Regions from separate parts of the Homo sapiens genome. Here all the other regions are linked to region 1. Evidence: promoter capture Hi-C in 16 types of primary human blood cells and fetal thymus (Javierre and others, 2016). All regions are on one chromosome and are shown on one strand. Each heading gives the region's core, a stretch centred on a gene start or on the middle of the fragment in contact. The rest is flanking DNA. Distances are from core to core; before and after follow the strand shown. Region 1 holds the start of NFE2L3 (NFE2 like bZIP transcription factor 3). Region 2 holds the start of HOXA4 (homeobox A4). Region 3 overlaps SKAP2 (src kinase associated phosphoprotein 2).

What was found. The method cuts DNA at HindIII sites, captures the fragments that hold promoters and counts their contacts. A CHiCAGO score of 5 or more calls a contact.
Region 2: a contact is called between a fragment that was not itself captured here and the fragment with the promoter of NFE2L3 in region 1, in 1 of 17 cell types (fetal thymus). The highest score is 5.6, in fetal thymus.
Region 3: a fragment that was not itself captured here is called in contact with the fragment with the promoter of NFE2L3 in region 1 in 2 of 17 cell types (M1 macrophages and naive CD8 T cells); the score reaches 5.7 in M1 macrophages.

The regions. Positions count from the first base shown.
Region 1 is chr7:26,150,251-26,155,177 of GRCh38, forward strand. It overlaps NFE2L3 (NFE2 like bZIP transcription factor 3), which reads left to right and starts at 1,948. Exons shown (of 4, transcript NM_004289.7): 1 at 1,948-2,818. The coding sequence starts at 2,249. RefSeq lists silencers at 1,737-2,116, 2,137-2,206, 2,217-2,286, 2,397-2,646, 2,657-2,726 and enhancers at 1,908-2,702, 2,703-3,496, 2,847-3,036. The HindIII fragment of the contact is 3,470 bases long and covers 375-3,844 here.
Region 2 is chr7:27,126,081-27,131,007 of GRCh38, forward strand. It overlaps HOXA3 (homeobox A3), which reads right to left. Exons shown (of 6, transcript NM_153631.3): 3 at 806-990. HOXA4 (homeobox A4) reads right to left here and starts at 4,677. Exons shown (of 2, transcript NM_002141.5): 1 at 4,038-4,677; 2 at 2,445-3,491. The coding sequence starts at 4,653. The coding sequence ends at 3,145. It overlaps HOXA-AS2 (HOXA cluster antisense RNA 2), which reads left to right. Exons shown (of 4, transcript NR_122069.1): 4 at 2,120-2,680. RefSeq lists a silencer at 4,835-4,904. The HindIII fragment of the contact is 300 bases long and covers 2,412-2,711 here.
Region 3 is chr7:26,676,231-26,681,157 of GRCh38, forward strand. All of the region lies in intron 11 of SKAP2 (src kinase associated phosphoprotein 2), which reads right to left. Among named protein-coding and RNA genes, the nearest start is that of LINC02860, 41 kb to the left of the region's middle. The HindIII fragment of the contact is 4,779 bases long and covers 1-4,412 here.

The DNA of each region.
Region 1 (4,927 bases), core at 698-3,197:
GTGTATAGTCTGAAAGATATTTAACACTATGATTACCAATTCACATTGTAAAATGGTGAGGGGTTAGCCCACTTCCCAACAAATGTTAGAAGTTTGTATGTGCTTCCTGTTCCCAGTCTATTCAGATTTCTCAAAATACATCTCAAGTGTAACCTCCTCAATTCAACTAATATTTTTTTTGAGCATCAACTGTGTGTAAGATTCTGGAGGGCACCGCCTTGAAGAAGGCACCGCCTCTACTCTCAATAGTTTTAGAGCTCCCTATATAAACCTTGAAGTAATTTACATCTAAGTATTTTGGCAATTGAGTACATTATTTCTCTTGTTTCTTAGTGTCTCACAAATTTTTATCTCATCTCCCTAGTAAAACCATAAGCTTACGGAAGGAAAGAACTCCGTTTCATATCCTTCATGCCTCCAGCACAGCCTCAGGCAGTTAGTAGGTTCTCAGTAAAAAGCTGAAGGCAGCATTTACTAAGCTGAGACTCTAAATCCGCTGTTCAAAGACTAAATGCTGTGAACGGGGTCTTGATAACCTGGCAATCACCTTTCTTCATCCTCTTTGCCACCCCAACCCATCTTCCAAGGCTTAACACAGAGGAAGCAACTTTCCTCTGCTCCCCTGTTTCTGCTCCCCTGGTCCCCATTCTTTTCTCTTCTTACTACACTAGCCCAGGAGAGAGATGAGAAAGCCAGGTGGAGGGAGGGGCCTTTTAAAACAAGTCTTGCTCAACTTTTTACACAACTGCCCATTCTCAGTTGGGCATCCCCTCCTGTCCCCTTTTCTTCCAAGGAAGGGAGCTAAGGTTAGTAAAACCTACCCTTGCAAGGCCCAGTGCTGGGTACTGTGCATGGACAAAGGTGAACCAAACAGGTTCCTTGTCCTCAAGAATTTACAATGGGCAAATCAGACCGATTCTCATCTACAACACAGAGTTGAATGGGCCAACTGTTACAATGTTGGCAAACGGAGAAATCACGGTGCAACAGATGGGGGAGAGATTAATGCCAACTGGTGAAAATTCAGAGGATGTAGCTTTGGAGCTAAGCCTTGAGGGTGAGTAACACAAACAATGGGTAGCAGGGAGCACTTCCTACCCATGCAGTGCTGTGGTCGGTGGTTTACATGCATTATCTCATTTGGGGCTCACAAAAGGTCTGCTGGGGAGGTGCTATTATTAGTCTCATTTTACAGTGAGAAAACTGAGGCACAGAGAAAAGGAGAGATTTGTCCAAGGTCGCCCCTCAAGTGGAGGGGGGACTTGAACTCACTCAGGGTAACTGTAGAGCTGGTGCTGTCAACCCTCAAGGAAACAACGGATAAGGAGCAAAGGATACCGAGAGGAGGTCTAGCACTATGCAGAGCACGCCCAGAGAAGAGAGAGGGGTCTGTGAGGCTGGGACTGGGGTGTGCGGAGTGGTGGGATGACTGATCCCAATGGCAACGGTGGAATTTATATGTGAAACTCCGAACTTTACACGAAATATTTCATCTGACCTCAACACATCCCTGTTTGACAGGCTCTATGATCCCCATTTTACAGATAGCGGAACTGAGACAGAGAGGTTACTCTTGCCCACTCTGCCCGCCAAGTGTCCTCACGTTGGGGTGGAAGCCCGTTGCAAGCTGCCAGGCCCCTCGTAGCTGCCCAGTCACTCTCCGCCCAGTCTACACATCCTGTCCCTTCCCACCCAGCTACCCACCACCTAGCCCTCCACCCCAACTCCCGCCCTTGGCTTTCAGCAAGGATGGCCCAGCTCACGGCCACAGGGTGGCAAGGGGCCACTTGGTGCCCAGAACAACTTCTGCTCCCAGAAAGCCTTGCGTTCCCCGGACATAAAGAGGCTTTGAGCTCGGGGAGCCCCGCCCCGTGCGGCCCCTCCCACGGGCGCGGGCCCCGGGCGGCAGGGGGCGTGTTCCTGTCGGCTGCGCCCGCGGCCGGGGGCGGAGCTTGGCCACCGCGCCGGGCTGCGGGCGGCTGGGCGAACGGGCTCGGCGCTCAGGTGGCTCCTTCTTCGCTTCTCCCGATCCCCGGCGGTGCCAGGCACGGTGCCGGCTGCCGAGGGAACGCCTTTGTGCCCGGTGCTGGGAACCCGCGACGGCCGCCACGCGCCCCGGTCCATTGTTTCGCTTATCTGGGTTCCAGGCAGGTGCGGGCGGCGCGCGGGGTCCGCACGTGTCACCCCGGCGGCTGGGGCGCCGGGACCCGCGGGCGCCGGCAGGGGCGTTCCCGGGCGCGCGGCGGCGATGAAGCACCTGAAGCGGTGGTGGTCGGCCGGCGGCGGCCTCCTGCACCTCACCCTCCTGCTGAGCTTGGCGGGGCTCCGCGTAGACCTAGATCTTTACCTGCTGCTGCCGCCGCCCACCCTGCTGCAGGACGAGCTGCTGTTCCTGGGCGGCCCGGCCAGCTCCGCCTACGCGCTCAGCCCCTTCTCGGCCTCGGGAGGGTGGGGGCGCGCGGGCCACTTGCACCCCAAGGGCCGGGAGCTGGACCCTGCCGCGCCGCCCGAGGGCCAGCTGCTCCGGGAGGTGCGCGCGCTCGGGGTCCCCTTCGTCCCTCGCACCAGCGTGGATGCATGGCTGGTGCACAGCGTGGCTGCCGGGAGCGCGGACGAGGCCCACGGGCTGCTCGGCGCCGCCGCCGCCTCGTCCACCGGAGGAGCCGGCGCCAGCGTGGACGGCGGCAGCCAGGCTGTGCAGGGGGGCGGCGGGGACCCCCGAGCGGCTCGGAGTGGCCCCTTGGACGCCGGGGAAGAGGAGAAGGCACCCGCGGAACCGACGGCTCAGGTGCCGGACGCTGGCGGATGTGCGAGCGAGGTAGGTGCAGAGCGGGAAGCGAGCGAAGTGCGGCGTCTACGCCGCCGGGAGCCCCCGAGGCTTGTGTCGGATCTGAGCAGGGGCCACTCTCGCTGTGTCCTGGCACCCTTAGCCCCTGGTCTTTGCAGGTTCGCAGATGCTGCTGCTCTGATTCCGAATGAAGGGCTACTAGTGCTGTCGCTGTGGTTTTTAGGTGTTTAAGGAAGAAGTGGACGAAATCATCCGTTTGGTTATAGAGAATACCTTTCCTTGTGTGTGATGGCTGGCAAGAGTAGTTCGGGGATGGGGAGGGGAGAAGCAATGCCCACTGTCTTCGCTCAGTACCTCATGTACACTGGGGTGTCGTTCTCTGGGACCCGTGCCCGACCTGGACGATGTGAAGGAGGCCGTGACCTCTGGGAGGATGCATGTTTTTAAGAACGACTCTCCCGGCCTAACGCAAGGACCTTCGCCCTGTTTTCAGCCCAATTGCTGTTCGTTTTTGCTGCTTCCCTGGATTAAGGAGCCATGGTCAGGGTCTATTCAGAGGCCAGCCGGCAGGCGGTCCCCCTGTGACCTAACCATCCCCTGCACCTAGCAATCCTCCTTCCTGGAATTTGTGTAACCTCTTATTAGCATAACGAAAACAGGTACCTTGGCAGTCACTTAGTGACTAACAAGTTCCCTTTGGTTTATGGGTCCAAACCCTTCTCTGGCTTAACTTCTTTCTGAAACCAAGTTTACCAAGATCTGTTGCTTGAAACATCTGGTGCTCCCCATGGAACGTTTGAGTTCAGTCTAATGACACTTTAACACCAGTTTCCACAAAACCACTTTACCCAAAGTTCCTTCCAGGGGACTTTTAAAATTCTGTCTTGGCTCAAACTTTAGTGTTTGCAACTGGTAACGATCAACCAGTGGTGATCAACTAATGTTCTTCGGGTGTTGTTTTTGTGGGGCGCATTCTTATGCAAAATGGGAATTGGGGCTAAACTGGTTTGTTTGTTGCTCTTCAGAATTGCCGTTTGTGTAGGCTGTTGCCAGACAAGCTTCTCCACCCTCCTGGAGGGGTCATTGTGTGGAAGTGCTCGGTGATTCACTGTTATGCTGATCTGAGCCCTTCCTCTTCCTGGGGACCGGAACCAATGGGGTGGGGGCCAGTGAGAGTCTTGGAGGGATCCTTCTGTGTTCAGGATATACTGTGGGAGGTTCTTCCCCACTCACTCATCCAATCTGGACCCCATGGGGTCTGTCTCACCTAAATGCTCTGCCCTCTAATAAGTGAGTACTTGTGCACTACCACCATTCCTGGTTCTGTAACACAGAGTTGAAACCTAGTGCTGGATGCTGTACCAGATGGCACTCTGCCACCCACACCCGAATGCCAACCTGTGTGCAAAGTGCACAGGGACCTGGAGGGAGAAGAGAGGAAGCTGTTCAGTCCTCGGAAACTTCCCTCCCGGCATCACCTGGGAGACAAAGTGGCCTTCCCTTGGCTGTTTTTTTGTTTGTTTTGTTTTAAAGACAGGGTCTTGCTCTGTTGCCCAGGCTGGAGTGCAAAGGTGCAATGACGACTCACTGCAGCCTCAACCTCCCCGGCTCCAGCAATCCTTCCACTTCAGTCTCCCAGGTAGCTAGGAGAACTGGCGTGCACCACCATACTGGCTGATTTTTTGTAGAGACAGGTCTCGCTATGTTGCCTAGGCTGGTCTCGAACTCCTTGGCTCAAGTACCCATCCCATCTCAGCCTCCCAAAGTGCTGGGTTTACAGGCATGAGCCACCATGGGTGGCCTAGACTGGCAGGCCTGCCTTGGAGGCATTTTTTGAGCCTAGGCCAGCCAAACCACTGTGGAGGCTCTGAATCCAGCTTTCCTAGGGGAGAGAGTGAAGTTCCCCGAGAACCATTCTCCTGGCAGTGCCTTCCTGGCTGGGCTGGCATGTGTGCACCATGTTCACTGCTGGGATGACCTGGTTACATTCAATCTGGCAAAAATCAGCTGTCCAGCTCCTTACAGTTGTCACGGCCAGTTCACTTTTGTTGCCTTTTACATCAACCTTGTGTGGTGCACTGGCCAGGCACCCTTATATACAATTTGTACTTAAGAAAAATAGGGCTGAGTGCGGTGGCT
Region 2 (4,927 bases), core at 1,312-3,811, 980 kb after region 1:
CACAGTTGAATTCCTGCTGTAATAAAACACCGGGTATATCATAGATTTCAGCAAAACTAGGGAAGGAAGCCTGCAAAGTGCCATTTTTCTTCAAGGGGGAGAGTGTTAAGTACTTAATTCAAACTGTGACCATTAAAGTGTCTCCTATCCGATTTAGGTCGATTTCAGATGTTGACAAAACTTTTGTCTCCGGAGTCATGCACAACTTGGCTCTGTGACTAAAGCAGATGAGTGTGTATTGGAGGGAGGGAGAAAGAGAGAAAAGGAGAGTATGTGTAAGGCTCATTTTGGTAAAATTATAGAGCTTACACAAAATACTGTCTTTAAAGGTCAAGGATTTGAGGGGCCAGTAGGGTTTGCTTAAAAAAAAAAAACAATTAATGAGATAGAAAATTTGTCCTCTCGGTGAACTCTTATGGTTGCCCTAGCAAAGGGCAGACAATGCATGATTTTGAAGCACAAAGTGGGATTTTCTAATCTCTTATAACAAGCTCCCTTAAAGGCCAATTTGAAGCAGGCAAAACAACACTTAAGAAATGGCAATCATTTGGATCATTTTCTATAATCTGGGTTTTGTAAAACTCACCAATACCTTAATAATCAATACAGTTGGGACAAAAATGCCATCTTGTCCTGGAATATCAGAAAAATGATCTCAATCCTCTCTCTTCCCTTTCTGGATGGACTTATAAGTGCAAGTGAAAGAAAGTCACCCCTTTCATCCTCATACAACTGCCTGCAGCATGAAGCTAATGAATATTCCCATACCCCTCTTTTCCCACAAAGGAGAAATATAAGAATTTACCTTAAATGATGATAGTCTGCCATTTGAGATTTTGCAGCTTGACACTCAATTTCCACTGAGAGTCTAGGCATTTTTTTTTTTTAGCAGACAGCCAAGATGCTGTGTCCTTGCCTGAGACCACATTATTTGCAAGAAGATCCCTCTCTCCTCCACAGACTTTTCCCAGAGAATGCCTTTCAGAATTGCTGTTGAATTACAAAGAAGTATTTATTGTTTGAGGTGATTAATGATTCCTGGGAAAATTGCTATTTTCAGCGTGATTTAATTTTGTTTTACAAGTGTGTGTAGTAGGGGGAGGGTTAATAAGTTTCAGCAGCAGTTGCATTGCCTCCAGAAATCCCTGGCACCCGTTCACACCTTATAAAATGCACTTTATGCCAGGTTTATCCTGATTTGGGAAGGTAAGTGTGTATTTGATTGCTCCCGAATTTTCTTGGCTCTTCAGAGACTGGTATCTATCACTTTCCTCTCAAATCTGATTTGTAGGTATAGAACGGATCACCCTTGTTTGTATCACACACAGGGCAGCAGGGGTGAAAGGGGTACCAGCTCTGACACTGGCTAAAGGGTTTTGCCACTAATGAGAGAAATGTGTTTAAAAATTCTCTGATATTGCAGAGGCAGGTGAGCACTTACTCCCATCTATGCTAAAATTACTACATTACTTAAAAGTTGCACTTTTTCAAGGCCAGGTGACAGTTCTAATATTCTGGGGCTAGTGTGCACAGGTTTTTGTGGTCTTATTGTAGGGAACTCCCTGCAGTAAGCATCAAATCTAAATCAGTAAACAAATACTAGGGTTATAGAGATCGAGAAGTGGGTTTTGATTTTCAGCCTTTTGGATCTAGATCTCTGGAATCGAGCAGAAAATTCACAAAGCATTTGAGGAAAGTGACCCAGTTTGGCTATTTTCCAGCAGTAAACTCTCCCAGGTCTACTTTGCATGGGGTGAACTTTAGGGGTATATTATGCTTTTTCCTCAGAAGAGACATTGGAGAGTGTACTTGTAAAATTCAGTTTATTTGAAAGCTCTTTCTTCAAAAAAGAGAAACAAACAAGCAAACAAACAAAAATTCCCAGTCTGTAGTTAGTGAAGAGGACCTTAAGAACAGCCAGGAAACAAAAACTAATCTCAACCCTTTGCACAAACTATTTTTTATCTCCTGGGAAACAGGCAGATTAAGTGTGAAGGTGCAACAAATACCAAATACCAAAGAGACCACTTCTTTCCAAGTGTGCTCAGAGTTCAGTGTGTAGAACAGCTGCAGAAACTCCTGGGCCCACAGCACTGCATGGTTTCAACTTTCATTGCAGGGAAGGACACGTTTCTATGCCTTACAGAGACTTGAAGCCTGAAAGCCTGGCCAAGTTTGGGAAGAAGAGGAGCCCTCTCAGAGCTCAAGAGCCTTCCTACTCTTTGGAACTTTTCCACAGTAGGCCAAGCTTGACAAGAGTTCAGCTCAAGTTGAACATACATACACACACTCTCACACACAAATTATGTGAGCCGTCAGAATCCAAGTGAATCCAGCTCAAGCTATCTACAAGGTTTTTACATGCAAGGTCAAGTATCTCAATCCAGAGGACTTTTGTTTTCTTAATGAAAAGCTTAGAAAACACATGAATCTTAGATTTTTAATGTTTTTTAAATGGAGTTTATTCTTAGCACATGGCTTTCTATGTAGCCACATCACAATTTGTACAGTTCCACATAAGTCTAAATGCACTCCCCTCTCCCCAAAGACCGTGCCCCAGAAGGGGACAACAGTATCTCTGTAACAGTGTCTTAAATAAATGCAAGTAAGAAAAACTAACATGTCACACCTACCATCAAGGTCTACACATCTTAAGAATTAAATAATCTTGTGAGGTCCACAATGTCTACTCATTTATTCAGTTAAATACAAGCTTGGATGAGCTGCCTTAATGGGGGAAGAGGAGGTAAGGAAGGTGGGGAAAGGGTCTGTCTTCTTCTGCTTTCAACAAAGATGCAAGTGTATGTCCCCACTCAGCATGGGCTGTCCAGCTAGCTGACTGTAGCCATCTCAAAAGTATTTGATACCAAGTAGTCCTTCTCAGGTATCCACACCTGGCAGCCTTGTTTCGGGCCAGCAGGTTGTTCCACCAGCCAGCATCCTGGACAACTGTTCTCTCTTGGGTGGCAACCAGCACAGACTCTTAACCGGATAATGTCTTCTTTTTGATTATTCTTTTCACCAATTTGGGTTTGTTTTGGTGTCTATTATGGTCCAGATGGGGAGGGGTGGATGAGGAACGGAGCAGGAGAAGAGAAGAGAAAAGCAGGTAAGGGATAGAAACTGGTTAAGATCTCTAGAAGATTATATGGAGGAGGGAACGGGTGTGGAGGTGCTCGGGTGGGGGTGGGGATGGAGGTGTGGGCTCTGAGTTTGTGCTTTCCCTGGTGGGCCGGCAGAGGCCGAGGCCGAATTGGAGGATCGCATCTTGGTGTTGGGCAGTTTGTGGTCTTTCTTCCACTTCATCCTCCGGTTCTGAAACCAGATCTTGACCTGGCGCTCAGACAAACAGAGCGTGTGGGCGATCTCGATGCGGCGCCGCCGGGTCAGGTATCGATTGAAGTGGAACTCCTTCTCCAGCTCCAAGACCTGCTGCCGGGTGTAGGCGGTTCGAGAGCGCTTAGGCTCCCCTCCGTTATAACTGGGGTTAACTGAAAACCCAGAACCCCGAAATAGAAGGCCAAGGAGGAGGGAGCGGAAGAGAGGGAAAGGAGGAGGAGAGAGAAGGTGGGGTGGGGAAGAGCAATTGGACATCATCATTATATAATAACCTGACACCAAGTTCACGCAAGATACATAAAACGGCAAAGAAAATGTTTCACAGGCTATTGACAACGGGAAACACCCGAGAGCCATAAAGAATGGTGCTGGGCATTGGGGCTGAAGAAAAGCTTCAAAGACACATGGCCTGAAGCCTCTGCCAGGGCAATTAAATTTATGGGGGCTATAATTACTGCCCTAACAGTTTGGCGTCTCGTAAATCTCCTGATAAAGGGACCCTGGGTACAAAAGGGTTCTCATGTTGGGATCAGGCGGCTGGCTGGCGCGCACATACCCACATCTCACCGCAGCCCGGGTCAGATGGGGGCTCCCCTCCCGAGGCCCCCTTCCCCTGAGCCTCTCCCTCCTGACCCCGACCCTCGAACCCAGGCCCAGCCCCGGCCCACCTCCCGCGCCTCCCAAGCGGCGCCACGTACCGGCGCTGACATGGATCTTCTTCATCCAGGGGTACACCACGGGCTCCTTGCCCTTCAGGCCCAGCGGGCTCTTGTCGGCCAAGAGCAGCGGGCACGCGGGGGCGCTGCCCCCTGCCGGGACGCCTGGGGTGGCGGGGGCCGCCTCGCAGCGCCGCGGGGCCGCTGGGGGCACGGCGCGAGGCTGCAGGGGCGGCGGCAGCTGGGGCTGCAGGACGTGGCTCGCATGCAGGCCGTGCGCTGGGCCCTTGGCTTGCGCCGGGGGCTGCTCGGGCTGGGGCGGCCGCCCGGGGCTGGCGCCGCCGCGGTAGCCATAGGGGTAGGCGGTGTCCGCGGCCCCATGCGCGGGGTACAGCGCGGCAGCAGGGTAGGCGGGCTCGCGGGCGGTCCGCGGCGCGTAGTAGGAGGCAGTGGGCTCTCGGCCGCCGCCCGCGTGAGGGAGCTGGGGCTGCTGCAGCGGCAGGTGCTGGGTCGGGGGCGCTGGGGGCTGCTGGTAGCCGGGGCCCCCGCCCGGGCCGCCGTCTGCGCCGCCCGAGCCGCTGTGCTGCGCGTACTCCTCGAAGGGAGGGAACTTGGGCTCGATGTAGTTGGAGTTTATCAAAAACGAGCTCATGGTCATTAATTTGTGAAGTGCAAAAATACTAATTTTTCTCGCGTTGTCGTTTTTTCTGGGCTTGCCGAGGCCCCTCCCCCTCCTGCCTCGCTTCCCATCCCCCTTTCCTCTGCGCCCTTCCCCTCCCCCCGCTGTCAAGTGCCCACTCCTCCCCCTCCCGCAGACGCCGCCACCAAAGTTCGAGCCGCTCCTCCCCAGCCCAGCGCGCGCCCCGCCCCGTGCCCCACGTGCAGCGCCCCCACCAATGGGCGCACCGCGCGCGCGGACCCGGATCAGGAAA
Region 3 (4,927 bases), core at 773-3,272, 530 kb after region 1:
CTTATGCACTTATTTATGTAAAGTTGTTGAGGCCAGATATTCAGGGCAGAGTCTAGAAATTCATGTAAGAATATTTAAGTAGCCAGTGCTGGGAAAAGCCAAGATCCTTCCTTTATGATTAAAAGAAATTACTAGCTCCCATCTCTCCCTTTTTTGGTTTGGCTGCCAAGAAGTTCAGGGCCAAGGTGGAAGTACAACCTCAGAAACACCATTGTCTTTGGAGGTCTCTGTAGGAGTGGTCCATTTTTCCTTTGGGCTTTTATTTCTTTTTCCCTTATTATGTTGAGCCTCGATTTCTTTACCTATAAAGTGAAGGGCTAGCACTAAGGTCCCCCTCACTCTATGATCCTATCATTCTAAGTTCTTTTAAGAAGTCAGGATTATTTCCTGTTGTTAACTGTATTTTGGTAAAAGCATAGTAAACATCTATCTGCCATACTGTTAACATATTGGGATACAAAAATATTTAAGACACAGTGTCTACCTCAAGAAGTTCAAAGTTTAGACAGAAAGCCAGAGAAACAGGTAATCATTATATTGAATGTTAGGTAAGAGAGGGAAAAAGTTTGTAAAAAGAGAAGCAACTAATCCTACAGCAGGATCTGAGAGACTTTACATAGAAAGTGACAGCTGGGCTGAGACTCCAGAAGGAATAATGAAAGGAGCAATACATGGCAGGCGTGAAGGCCTGCAGAGATAAAAGAATGTGCTGTGTTCAGTGAAGAGTAAGTAGTTGAGAGTGTGGTTAACACACAAGGTACAGGCGAAGATAAGGGAAAAGTGGTGTAAGCTGCTGTAGAAAAACTAGCTTGGAAACATCAGGTTGATTTGGTTTCTCACAGGGTTTCTCTGGCTGCCTACCATTCTCCAAGGTAAGGAAAGAGAAGTGATGGCTCATGCCTGTAATCCCAGCACTTTGGGAGGCCGAGGCGGGAGGATCACCTGAAGTCAGGAGTTCAAGACCAGCCTGGCCAACATGGTGAAACCCTATGTCTACTAAAAATACAAAAAATTAGCCGGGCATGGTGGCAGGAGCCTGTAATCCCAGCTACTTGGGAGGCTGAGGCAGGAGAAATGCTTGAACCCGGGAGGCAGAGGTTGCAGTGAGCTGAAATTGCATCACTGCACCCCAGCCTGGGTGACAGAGCAAGACTCTGTCTCAATAAAAAAAAAAAAAAAAAAAAAGAAGTGATCCTGAATGACTGATGTCTATTGGCTCTATGCTCCCCTTTCATCAATATAGCCATCCACCCCTTTCCATAGCACAGCCGTTCTTCTAGGTTTTATATGTAATAGACACAGAAAATAAGCATTCATATTTGTTAAATGAATAAACTCCATTTATACATAAAGTTCCAGTTCAAGTTCCATTTCCTATGAATCTTTCATTACTTACTTACTCCAGTATTTACTGACTTCCCTTTCTTCTGGGATTCTCCAGGACTACAACACTGATACCCTACATTGTGTTTTATTGCTATTATCTATTTTATGCATTGGTCTTCTCTTCGACTTAATTGCAGTCTCCTTGAATAACAGTTTGTGGCTTTTCTGGATCCTGCTCAAAATAGTACTTTGCATGAGTGTTCACCAAATATTTGTTGATTAGAAAATGAAATAATTTTGACCATCTATACAAGATTTAATTATGTAAAAGATACTGTCAATAACATGGTTCGCTGTTGTTTAGAACTGGGATGTGATAATTACAATTAACCTCTGATATAGAAGAAAAGTTAAAGTCCTAATCAAGTCCCACTTAACCGTAGCAAAGTAGAAAGAGAAAAGGCTTTAGGGTCAGACCTGTATTGATACCTGGAGAAGGCACTTAATAGCTGCGTATCCTCAGATAATTTCCATAATAACCTTACTGCACATCAGTTTCCTAATCTGTAAAATTATAACATCATCTACTTCACAGGGTTATTATATTAATTATATGTGTGAAAGCATATTAAGTACCTAGAACAGGACATTGTAAATGCTCAATAAACACTTTTTCATTCCCTCCCCCACTCCCTGCCCACTAATTGGTATAGCAAAGTATTATGGCAACAACAAAAAAACAGAGTACTTTGGGACGCACTATAAGGCAATCTGATTATTATGAGCAGGTCTCCACCCTGCTCTTCCAAAGAGAATCTTATCTTCTCCCAAAGAGAACAAGTATTTGAGGAATATAACATTTTATTACAATTTTAACTGGTTGTTCTTTTTTTTTTTTTTTTTGAGATGGAGTCATGCTCTGTCACCAGGCTGGAGTGCAGTGGTACAATCTCAGCTCACTGCAACCTCTACTTCCCGGGTTCAAGTGATTCTCCTGCCTCAGCTTCCCAAGTAGCTGGGACTACAGGTGCGCACCACCACGCCCAGGTAATTTTTCTATTTTTAGTAGAGACGGGGTTTCACCATGTTGGCCAGGTTGGTCTCGAACTCCTGACTTCAAGTGATCCTCCTGCCTCGGCCTCCCAAAGTGCTGGGATTACAGGAGTGAGCCACAATACCTGGCATGCTGGTTGTTCCTTGATAGCTGAATACTCAATGAACATCTGTCACTTATCTATAATTTACTAAATATCGACTCTAAAACTTTTCTTAATCAGTAGTCTATCTCTAGTCTCTATGCCTAATGATTTCCCTGGAATATCTAGCTCCATGTTCTAAAGGGATGAGGAAGAAGACATCTCAAAAGAGTGAAAGTATGCTATACACACTGAGGGAGTTCCTCATTTTCAAGGCTGAAATCATGAATTGTTCAACTGAGAATTAAAAAAAATATCAACGTAGTGCTTTTCTTTAAGGTTTTGTTTTGCTGCTGCCAAACTCTTAGTTATTCATGCTGAAGTAAATCACATAGGCCTTACAGGTGGGCTCCTTTCCAAAGCAGCCCCCTCCACTGCCACCTCTGCTCACCTTGCCTCTCTGACACTGCCTTCTGGCTTTTCCTCTACCTGTCAGGCCATTGCAAGGGCTGCAGCTGCCAGCCTGCCTCCTATAAGCACCTTTTGCTTTCATCTGCCAACATTTTTCTGGAATGTTTCCTCCAATTTATGTAAGAGAAAGTAGGGAAGTACTTAAGCATATTGTTCACAAACAGATAACAAGAGGAGTCCTATGAGTAGAACTAGAACATTTTCTGACATGGTGTTGTGTCCATAAACTGCTTTTCACTCCTAGGAGGAGATGGGTACTAAATAGGAGGTTGGCCTGGTTAATGCTTCCAGTGTACTCTAGACCATACATCCATACTGACAGCATACAAACTAAATGTCATCGGAGCAAACAAATGCAAGCACAAATACAAACACTTCTTCTTATCAAAAGGCTATAAAATATAACATTTTGGAGCTAGCTTAGTGTCAACAATGCATGTCCCACATTCAGATATCCTAGTTACTCTGCAGCAGTTGGCCACGCTATTTGTGGCATACTGGGTCATACGGTTACAAATGAAAAACTAAGACAGCTAAAAAGTAACTTATTTCCCTCTGCCAATAAAGCTCAACAAGACTTTCATTTCATTTATTAACATAGGTTTGAAGCCAAAAAAAGCCATAGTAACTTAACCTTTACATTCTTACAATGAGAAGCAAATGGTCAATGACAGTCACAATTCACCAATCACTGGAAAAAGTCAACCAAACAGATATAAAGGGAGGTACTGCTTGAAACTCCAACCAATATACACCAAAAAGTACCCTTTTATTTTATATTGGTGACCACAGTCTTAACCTACATTTCCTGTGTTTGACTTAATAAAAAGTTTCTCAAAGGCTGCAAAGCTAGTCGCATATGCCCTAGACTAGATAAAATATTCCAGAATTCTTAACTCTCATTTTTCTTTTAATATCAAAGTACTGTGCCTCTTTTCTGAAGTATAGCTTGTCTGTTATTAAATCTCTAAAAATAGTTTATTGCTTTAAAAGTAAGTATAGCAATGTGGTTTGCAAATTAATGATGAGTACAGATTGAAAGATAAACTAATAGAGGATAGAAATCCAGAAGAGCAAGATAGAATAACATAACCAAAAAGGCATTTGGGACCTCAGAATATACCTATTGCTATATAATCTGGATCCTGCTATTAAAATGATAAAATTTCAAAAACATGGTTCTAGGAAAATACTGTTAGCTATAATATTATGTTCCTGTTTTATTTAGTGGTAATAAAAATGAAATGAAAACTAACAAAAATATTTAGCATTATTTTAAACAACCCAATTTCTTAAGGAAATACAGGTTTTCTATCTCAAATATGATTTTCCCCCATCAAATGAATCTGAAACCAATTGTTAATTCACTAACAATACAACTGTCATTAAAATCACAAATTCTGCTTTCATCAGTCATTATAAATTTGATCCATTTTTTAAGAGAAAAAAGAGATTTCCAAATCTCCACTGAACTACTGAAGCTTTTAATTTTAACACATAAAAAAACAGCAGCAACCCTATGTGAATAGAAGTATAAAGCAAAAAGTACTGGCTTGCCTTTTAAGGCAGGCGGTGTTTAGATTTATTATTAGTGAGGTTCAAAGGTGAAACCTAAGGAAATGCTGGACACTTTGAAGGAGGGGCTATCTCAGCCAGGGGTCACATGATAGCTGCTAATTGGAAAATGTTAAAAAGGGAAGGAGGAAGGGCACAGTATCTGCCTACTCTTCTTTCTTTATTGCAACATTTGATTTGCACCAGAAGAAAAAAAAAAATAAAGGCTTAGATTTGTATAACTTTCAAAAGAGGCCTAAAATAAATAAATCACCCCCAGGTTGACTGAGCACAGCTAACATTCCATCAAGGCTTTCTTGCAAAACAGAAAATAATATATTGAATTTTTAAATAAAACTATATTTCTGTAGTGATTTTTAAATGAAAACAACCTAATCCCCAAGCTAGTTAAATGTTTTTCTGCCATTACATTTACAAAA